Linked DNA regions of Homo sapiens: regions 1 and 2 are each linked to region 3. The links are contacts of gene promoters, found by promoter capture Hi-C in blood cells and fetal thymus (Javierre and others, 2016). All regions are on one chromosome and are shown on one strand. Each heading gives the region's core, a stretch centred on a gene start or on the middle of the fragment in contact. The rest is flanking DNA. Distances are from core to core; before and after follow the strand shown. Region 1 holds the start of RPL26 (ribosomal protein L26). Region 2 holds the start of TRL-TAG1-1 (tRNA-Leu (anticodon TAG) 1-1). Region 3 holds the start of BCL6B (BCL6B transcription repressor).

Region 1 (2,863 bases), core at 27-2,526, 1.4 Mb before region 3:
TTCAGCAGAAGCCGTTCAGCGCCGGTGCCTGCTGCACTGCCGCTGCCTCAGAAACCATTTGCAGGGGCCGGGCGCGGTGGCTCACGCCTGTAATCCCAGCACTTTGGGAGGCTGAGGCGGGCGGATTGCCTGAGGTCGGGAGTTCGAGACCAGCCTGGCCAACATGGTGAACCCTCGTCTCTACTAAAACTACAAAAATTAGCCGGGCGTGGTGGCGGGCGCCTGTAATCCCAGCTACTCAGGAGGCTGAGGCAGGAGAACCCGGGAGGCGGAGGTTGCAGTGAGTGGAGATCGTGCCAGTGCGCTCCAGCCTGAGCAACAAGAGCGAAACTGTCTCAAAAAGAAGAAAAAGACACACACACACACACACACACACACACACACACACACACACACACACACACACACACACACACACGAAGAAGAAGAAAAGAAACCATTTGCAGGGAGCGCACGGCTTCCGTCTGGTCCTGAACTGGACGCAAACAGGCCGAGCATTTAGAAACCCGCGCAGCTCCCCGCACCGAGAGGCTTCCTCTCGCCTGGCTCCTTCGAAGCGTGGTCTGGACCAGCACCTCCCACAGCACTGGGGGCGCCTTGGAAACGCGGCCTTGGACCTATTTCCGCGGGGGCAGGCGGCGATCGGTGGCCCTGGTCCTCGCAAGGCCCCTCACCACCCAGAACTGAATCTCTGGCGGGCCCTGCTGTGCGGTCAGCAGACGCCCAGGTGCAGGGGCGGTGGCCGGCGTCGCGGTGGAGCTCGTTAAAGTACCGGCACGCTGGCCGCGCCCACGCCACGGGCGGGAGGGGACGGTGAGTGCAGGGACCCAGGCGACCGGCCGGCCGGCGTCCCCGCGCCTCCTGGCGGCCAGAAGCAGGGCCTGCGCTTCCCCGGCTAAGGGGTGCCGGCCCCCGCCCCGGCACCTGGGAGTGAAGGTACCAGCGGGTCTCCTGGGCGGTCTCCTGGGGCCGCTCGTTCCTTCATCACCCCCAGGGGCAGTTGGACCCTGAGCAGCCTTAGCCAATAGCCCCGGGACTACCCTTCCCAGAGGATTCAGCGGCAGCACCCGGGTCTCGGAAGGGAGACACTAGGACCTGGAGGAGGGGAGTTTTGCAATCCCTCGCAGTTCCCCTCCTAGCCACTAGGTGACACTAGCCATAAATTTATTTCCCAGTTTACTCCCCTCGCTCAAACTCCGCGCCCCTCTCGCTCCGAGAGACATAGGTCTCGCGAGATCTTTGGTAAACTTACAGAACCGGAAGCAGCGTGTAGTTCTCTTCCCTTTTGCGGCCATCACCGAAGCGGGAGCGGGTAAGGATTCGGCGGGCAAGCGGGTGTAATCAGCAGCCATCCGTTCTTGGGCATGGTGGCTTCCGACCGCGGGGACCCCGAGAGTCTCTTGTCGGCCGAGTAGCAGCCAGGAAGGAGAGACTGGGATGGTTTTTTATCTGTTGCTTTCTTAAATCAAGGGCCGCCGGGCCGGAGATGGATGGAGGGACCGGGGATTTGGGAACTCGAAAACGAGCTGAGGGAAGGGAGCCTGTGGAAATAGACTGGAGTCTGGGTAGTGTCGTTTCCTAGAGAATGGTCTCGAAGTAACTTCTCGGTAAAGTCTTCACGGAATTTCCAGACCACACTTGCCCACTGGGAGGCTTTTAGGACCCGAGACGTGTGCAGGCTTTTCCAGGTTCGGGTTGGTGGGCCTTATTCATTTTGGCGGGGCTATACGTATTCACTCTTAAGCCTGTAGAAGATGAACGTTGATTGTACCTTCTAAAACGTGAGGTTATAGTTAAGAGAATTGCGTTGTCGGTCTGCTCAGCAGAGATGTAAGTCCAGTCTTGATTTCCTCAGGCACTACTTGAGGAGTTGGGAGAGTGTAACTAAAAGGTCTTATAACTAGGACAAGTGTTTTTGATGCAAAAGTCTTTAGTCCGTAAACATATACAGAAAACACCCGAATAAAACAAAAAATAAAAAGTTTCGAGCTTCGGTTGATAGGCCCTTCCGATCAAACAGTTTTTGTTGAAGTTGCACAACATGACACTGCCTATGATCATTCTAGACTATCAAGATAAAATCATTGCGGTTATTTGTTTGGAAGCTGGATGAGATTTTGGTCATTTAAGAGTCTTTTTAACTTTTTATTTAGCCAAAATGAAGTTTAATCCCTTTGTGACTTCCGACCGAAGCAAGAATCGCAAAAGGCATTTCAATGCACCTTCCCACATTCGAAGGAAGATTATGTCTTCCCCTCTTTCCAAAGAGCTGAGACAGAAGTACAACGTGCGATCCATGCCCATCCGAAAGGATGATGAAGTTCAGGTGTGTATCCCTACTTGTTCTCGTTGTCTTGATGGATATTTTACGCACTTAGCTTAGAAGAGAGATTGCATTCCTGAGAAAGATGCTTCTGAGACTCTTGCTCCCAAAGAGTGGCAAGATGAGTTGAGCCAGGGACCAAAAAACAGTAAGTAAGCTGCTTTTCAGTTTTTAATTGTATTATTTGGTGAAAATCTTTTTTTTTTTTTTTTTTGAGATGAAGTCTCGCTCTTGTCCCCCCCAGGCTGGAGTGCAGTGGTGCCATCTCAGCTCACTGCAACCTTCGCCTCCCGGGTTCAGGCGATTCTCCTGCCTCAGCCTCCCGAGTAGCTGGGATTACAAGCGCCCGCCACCACGGCTCGGCTAATTTTTGTGTTTTTAGTAGAGGCGGGGTTTCACCATGTTGGGCAGGGTGGTCTCGAACTCATGGCGTCAGGTGATCAGCCCGCCTCAGCCTCCCAAAGTGCTGGGATTACAGGCGTGAGCCACCGCGCCCGGCTGAGATGGGGTCTCACTCTTACCCAGACTGGAGTGCAGTTG
Region 2 (2,772 bases), core at 242-2,741, 1.1 Mb before region 3:
CTCGCTCTCAGAACGCGATCTTCTTCGCCACCCCTCGGGTCTGTAAGTTTCACGCCTGGTTCTGTAAATTTCGCTCCCGGGGTCGGTCAGTTTCACCCTTTGGGTCTCTAAGTGTCCGGTTCCCCCTCCCCCACAGCCAGCCTCTGATGAGCCAGCCTCTGTTATGTCGGGTGGTTAATTTCATTCCCTGGGTTGCGGTTTCAAATCTCCTCCTCACGCGTTGGGCATTGGTTCCAACCCCTAGGATTGGACAGTTTCGTCTCAGGGTGGGCCAGGACTTTCCTTGGTCATCTCCACTCCGCATTTGGTCGCGCGTTCTGTGGGCAGTGCGCAAATGCGATCGGGGGCACCACCAGCTCCCGCATCCGTCCCTCCCTTCTTCCCCCTGCCACTTTCCCCCTTTCTCCCCACCCCTTTCTGTCTCTGCGCCCTCCCCTCCCGTCTGTAGAACCTCCGGAACCCGAAGCTGGAGAAAGCGGAGATATTGGAGTTCGCCGTGGGCTACTTGAGGGAGCGAAGCCGGGTGGAGCCCCCGGGTACAGCGCGGGGGTGGGGCAGCGGAGGGAGGGAGGGGGGACGCCAGGAGGCTCCGGCCGGGGCAGAGTGGGCGGGCCCTGCGGTGGATGGTGGGCTTGGGGAGTGGCCGGTTCTGCTCCGAGGCGAGGTTAATAACACCCGCGCGTGTCTGTCTCTGTGTCTCCCTCATTTTCTCCCTCTTTCCGTCCATCTGGCTTCCTGTCTCTGTGCGCCTGTCCGGCCTTGGTATCTCTGCGCCCCGCCCCTTCCCTCACCCCTGCCGGGCCCCTGCCCTGCCCACCTGTGCTCCCGCCGGCCGCACCAGCCGCCGCGGCTCCAGGGGTTCCCCGGTCCCCAGTCCAGGACGCCGAGGCGCTCGCCAGCTGCTACTTGTCCGGTTTCCGCGAGTGCCTGCTTCGCTTGGCGGCCTTCGCGCACGACGCCAGCCCGGCCGCCCGCGCCCAGCTCTTCTCCGCGCTGCACGGCTATCTGCGCCCCAAACCGCCCCGGCCCAAGCCGGTAGATCCGAGGCCTCCAGCGCCGCGCCCATCCCTGGACCCCGCCGCACCGGCCCTTGGCCCTGCGCTGCACCAGCGCCCCCCAGTGCACCAGGGCCACCCTAGCCCGCGCTGCGCATGGTCCCCATCCCTCTGCTCCCCGCGCGCCGGGGATTCTGGCGCGCCGGCGCCCCTCACCGGACTGCTGCCGCCGCCACCGCCGCCTCACAGACAAGACGGGGCGCCCAAGGCCCCGCTGCCCCCGCCGCCCGCTTTCTGGAGACCTTGGCCCTGAGCCTTGGGGGGTGGTGGGGGCGGGGTCTAGGGGTGGGGTAGAGACTCCAGCCCGAGGGCAGCAGAGGGACCCGGGCGTCCGGGCGAGCAGGTGTTGGGGAGGGCAGTGGGGCGCGCGGGCTCAGCGCGCGGGTGAGATGTGGTCTATATTAGAGTATCTATATAAATATATATTTCCCTGGTTCCTGTCCCTTTTCCCTGCCCCAACTTCTCCCTTGCGTCTAGGATTGTACTCTCTCTGCCCCTCAGCCCAGTCCCAGTCCCTTCCCGAGTCCCTAGTGCATGGAATAAAGTGGTTATTAAATCCCCGTGTGTCCCCGAGCCAGGGGCCTGCCTTTATCTCGACGTCCACGCCCACTTTCCCTTCCCTTCTGTCTCCCACCCTCAGTCCTGCTCTCCATGGCCCAAGCCCCGGGGCAGACAGGTAAGTAAAGAAGAGAGCAGAGCGGGAACTGAGATCGAAATTGAAACCAGGTGGAAAGAGAGAGATAGGGTAGGGGGAGAAGGGATGGGGGCCTTTAAGAAAAAAACGGATAAAAAGGAAAAATTGAAATAAAATCGACTCTGGTGGGATTCGAACCCACAACCTTTGAATTGCTCTATTCGTCACTAGAAGTCCAATGCGCTATCCATTGCGCCACAGAGCCACCCGACGAACGGCGGCGTCTTGTAGCTTACGGGTACTAGAGTGGGAATGGGGCAGGGTTGGGGAGCGGGGCTAAGGGACTTGGGCGGGACATGCCAGGAGGGCGCGGTTTGGATCTCAGAGGCCAAGCCAGGTAGAGGTAGCGGGCGCAAAGCATGTTAGCCAGGTGAGAGAGAGGGCGCACATGGGTCGAAAAAACAGGGAGGGAGAGCAACCGAAAATGGCTGAGCGAGCGAGTGCAGAGCTCCGGCTGCCCGCTTGGGGGGTGTTTCCGGCTCAGGCGCTCCCCACTCCCAGATATAGTCCCACCCAAATAAACTAGTTTTGTTGTAAATTTCTGTGTGTTTTTGTCTCTTCTCGTTTATCTGTTCTGCCATCTGCTGCTATGCGGTCCACAGTCTCGATGGTTCTTCATTTCCAGTCTAAAAGATGTGGAAAAGGAGACGAATCAATTTGGCACTCTTAAGATTTGCCCCATTCCTTACTTCTAGTCTCTTAGGAGGACAACGGGGACAGTAAGTTTTCGTGCAGGTAGCGTGGCCGAGCGGTCTAAGGCGCTGGATTTAGGCTCCAGTCTCTTCGGAGGCGTGGGTTCGAATCCCACCGCTGCCAGGCTGGAGTTTTTCTGGTGGATTACGCACCTGCTACAGTTCTGTTAACAGTTCTGTGAGGTTACACCTATTTACATGCAGAAAGTAATTTTACGAATTCCCCTGGTAATGGTTTCACCATCATCTTCCGTGTTTGGTCTTCCAGAGAGATCATAGGCCTGCATCCATCCCAGAAGCTAAGACCTGATGGTAACTGCTGAAGCAATAT
Region 3 (2,813 bases), core at 111-2,610:
GGTTCATAGCTGGGGAAAGTGTGATGAACGTTAGTGCCATTTCCTAAACTCTGCCTTTGCCCTTAACACCTCACCCACAGAGAACGCCGAGCCAGGGTCCCTCACCTGGCCTGGATGAAGCGGTGGCATGCCTGGACCACGTGCTCCATCTGCAAATAGGTGGCGGCCGCTAGGACTGCTGGTGCAGTGGCTGGAGAGAGGCGCAGGCGCGAAGTGTACATGAAGTCCAATAGAGGGGCGAAGCCTCTCGCTTCGGGACCCCCGGGCAGAGAGAGCACGTCCACCCCGACTCCCGCACGGCCCCGGAAAATTGAATAGAAGAAGCCACTAGAGAGAGAGCAGATAAGTCCTTTGGGGGCTGGGGAACCAAGGGAGACATGCGCAGCTTCAGGAAGCCCCGCCCCCTGAAAAAGTCCCGCCTCCTCACTATCACCCCGCCCCCAATTCTGGGACGCTCCGCCTCCTGCTTCTGAAAGACTTGGCTTCGGATTCCCTCTCAACGGCCCTGTGGTCCCACCCCTTTCCCATTTGGCCCCGCCCCAGGCCCCACCCCTCGAACCTGCAGGCGATGAGAACTGCCTTGTGTGCTCTGAGGGGTTGCCCGCCAACCAGCAGCGTGACGTCAGTGAGGATCCCGCGCAGGCGCAGCTCGTTGAGGTTGCCCAGCACGTCGGAGGAGTGGCGAGTGAACTCGCGGACGTAGCCCAGCGCTCCCTCCGGGGCGGCGGGGGAACCCATAGCGACACAGGCCTGTAGAGGCCGTGGAAAGTGCTCTGGATCCAGGCAGTCCTAAGACGCCTTCCCTCCTCTGTTTGCCTTTTCCTTCCGAGGTGCAACTAGAGCCAGGACTTCCAGCCCCTAGCCCCGGCACACGCAGCCTCCCTCCTAATTCTTCTTGTTCATTCTGCCCTCTACGACACCCTCGCTCCCTTGCCTCTTCCAGATCCCACAGCGCTTGGAGCCAGTTGAAGGTTCCACACCGCGGCGTCGTTGGCGAGCGTGGGGAATCCCGCGCCCATCGCCCTGGGTTCGACCCCCAGTGCCCCTCCAGCACCGCCACTCCCCTCTGCGCGCCTGTGTCTCAGGTGTCCAACCCTGCCTCGAGATCTCACGGCCTGCCGTCCACACACCTCCAAATCCCAGCCGAGGCTCCCTTCCCCGAACTACGGAATTCTGCGACTCCTATCTAGTCCCCAATCCCTAGTTTAGCCCAATTTCTGGGACTCAGGCTCGCTGATGGCAAGCTCCACACAAGCTCCTACCCTCTTGGGGGACCCAGGAGTCTGGCTCCCTCAGTCTCTTGTTCTTACCCCCGTCCTGCAGGGGCCGCGGCTTCTCTTCTTAAGGGGGGCGGGGTCTCTCTCCCCTCTTGGCCTCGGCTCCTTTATCTGGCCGGGATGTCGGGGGCGGGGGTGGAGGTGGGGTGAACGCCTGGGTCTGTATCCTTCCTTCCTCCCTCGCTCTCCAGATGGCGAGTCCAGGGCGGGGTCTCCGTCTCGAGGGCGGGACCTCAGAAACAAGGGGTGGTCGTAACGTAGGGGGTCTTGGGTCACTGCAAGTGGACACGAGGACGGGGATATTGGAATTGGGGAGGAGGTTAGGGATATCGAGGTTGGCAATACGGGAGTCTGAGTCGTCGGAAGGCCTGGGCCAGTGAAAATTGGTGTGTTGGCTTTTGGGAGGGTTTGCCAGGAGCCAACCTTTGCTGCAGGACAAAGTGCATACGGCAACCCCCTCTCCCTCTCTTGTACTGTGTTAAGGGAGAAAAGGGGGAGCCCAACGAGACAGCAGGTTTGGGCAGACGACAGTGGGCTCCCGTAGGGTCTCAGACGGGGAGGGTGTGGTGTGAATGACAGGCTACTCTACCCGGGCCTACAAAAAGGGGGGCTCTGGCCGGGCGGGGTACGGAGAGGGCGGATATGATTTCTAGTTGGTTTCCTTCCATTGTCCTGCGACCGGACGGCTCCGCCAGCTGCTTCCCCTCGAGGAGGTGGGGAAAGCCCCGAGGTGGGGGTGGAGGGGCGAGAGACGCTCGGGAGACCTAGGCGTCCGGCCTCTCTCGCTCCCGACTCTCTTCTGGGTCCTTGTAGGGATCCAGAGAGATGGACTCCCGCCCAAAGCCCGCTTGCTTTCCCCCAATCCCAGCTCACGAGGGCCTCGGGCACCCGCCCGTCGGCTACGCTTGGAGGCTGGCGGGACGCCGGGGTCCAGCGCGGCAAGTAGGCAAGGCTCGGCAATGTGCGGCTCCTTCCACGAGGGGGCGGCCGAGCACTGGCCTCGCCTCGCCCCTCGTCTCCACCCGGCCTGGGGTGCGCTCAGACCCGGGCGCAGGATCCATTTGGTCTGGGCGGCTGAAACCTTTAGCCTCCTCCCCTTTGCGCGGGTTTATTTTGCACCTCTGTCTCCTAGGAGGGGACTAGGGCTGGGCGGAGGGAGCTAGAGTTAGGAGACCGAGGGGACTTTCCCCTCAGGCTGGGGTTCCTACCCGAGGTGAGAAATCGCGGGCTTTAGGAGCCAGGGGAATGGGTGGGACAAGAAGCGGGACCTGAGCCTGGGAACTCCGGGTTTTCTTTTCGAATTAAGCTAGACACTGCTACCCAGATGTCTTTGGAGGTGACTTTTAATTGAACATTAAAATTGGGTGGGGTAAACGAGAAGGGAAAACAAGGAGGAGGGAGAGAGGGCAGGAGGGGGCTTAACCACCCTAATTTGAAGTCCCTGATCTGAGAGATGGGCATGGATCACACCCTCATATTTTGTTTCGGGAGACATTGCGGGCAGGCAAGGCAAAGCTCATTTGGAGAAGGGGTGCT

The links. The method cuts DNA at HindIII sites, captures the fragments that hold promoters and counts their contacts. A CHiCAGO score of 5 or more calls a contact.
Region 1: the fragment with the promoter of RPL26 here is called in contact with the fragment with the promoter of BCL6B in region 3 in 1 of 17 cell types (activated CD4 T cells); the score reaches 5.2 in activated CD4 T cells.
Region 2: a contact is called between a fragment that was not itself captured here and the fragment with the promoter of BCL6B in region 3, in 3 of 17 cell types (activated CD4 T cells, fetal thymus and naive CD8 T cells). The highest score is 6.1, in activated CD4 T cells.

Annotation. Positions count from the first base shown.
Region 1 is chr17:8,381,606-8,384,468 of GRCh38, reverse strand. It overlaps RPL26 (ribosomal protein L26), which reads left to right and starts at 1,276. Exons shown (of 4, transcript NM_000987.5): 1 at 1,276-1,312; 2 at 2,154-2,326. The coding sequence starts at 2,159. RefSeq lists a silencer at 682-951 and enhancers at 383-1,100, 1,352-1,521, 1,101-1,818. The HindIII fragment of the contact is 10,171 bases long and covers 1-2,863 here.
Region 2 is chr17:8,120,107-8,122,878 of GRCh38, reverse strand. HES7 (hes family bHLH transcription factor 7) reads left to right here. Exons shown (of 4, transcript NM_001165967.2): 3 at 449-536; 4 at 842-2,287. The coding sequence ends at 1,308. TRL-TAG1-1 (tRNA-Leu (anticodon TAG) 1-1) reads left to right here and starts at 2,484; the gene lies at 2,484-2,565. TRR-TCT2-1 (tRNA-Arg (anticodon TCT) 2-1) reads right to left here and starts at 1,954; the gene lies at 1,867-1,954. RefSeq lists silencers at 699-808, 1,029-1,488, 2,429-2,638. The HindIII fragment of the contact is 3,122 bases long and covers 1-2,772 here.
Region 3 is chr17:7,021,597-7,024,409 of GRCh38, reverse strand. It overlaps BCL6B (BCL6B transcription repressor), which reads right to left and starts at 1,360. Exons shown (of 9, transcript NM_181844.4): 1 at 1,311-1,360; 2 at 560-750; 3 at 106-327; 4 at 1-9. The coding sequence starts at 738. RefSeq lists a silencer at 2,267-2,406. The HindIII fragment of the contact is 4,378 bases long and covers 1-2,813 here.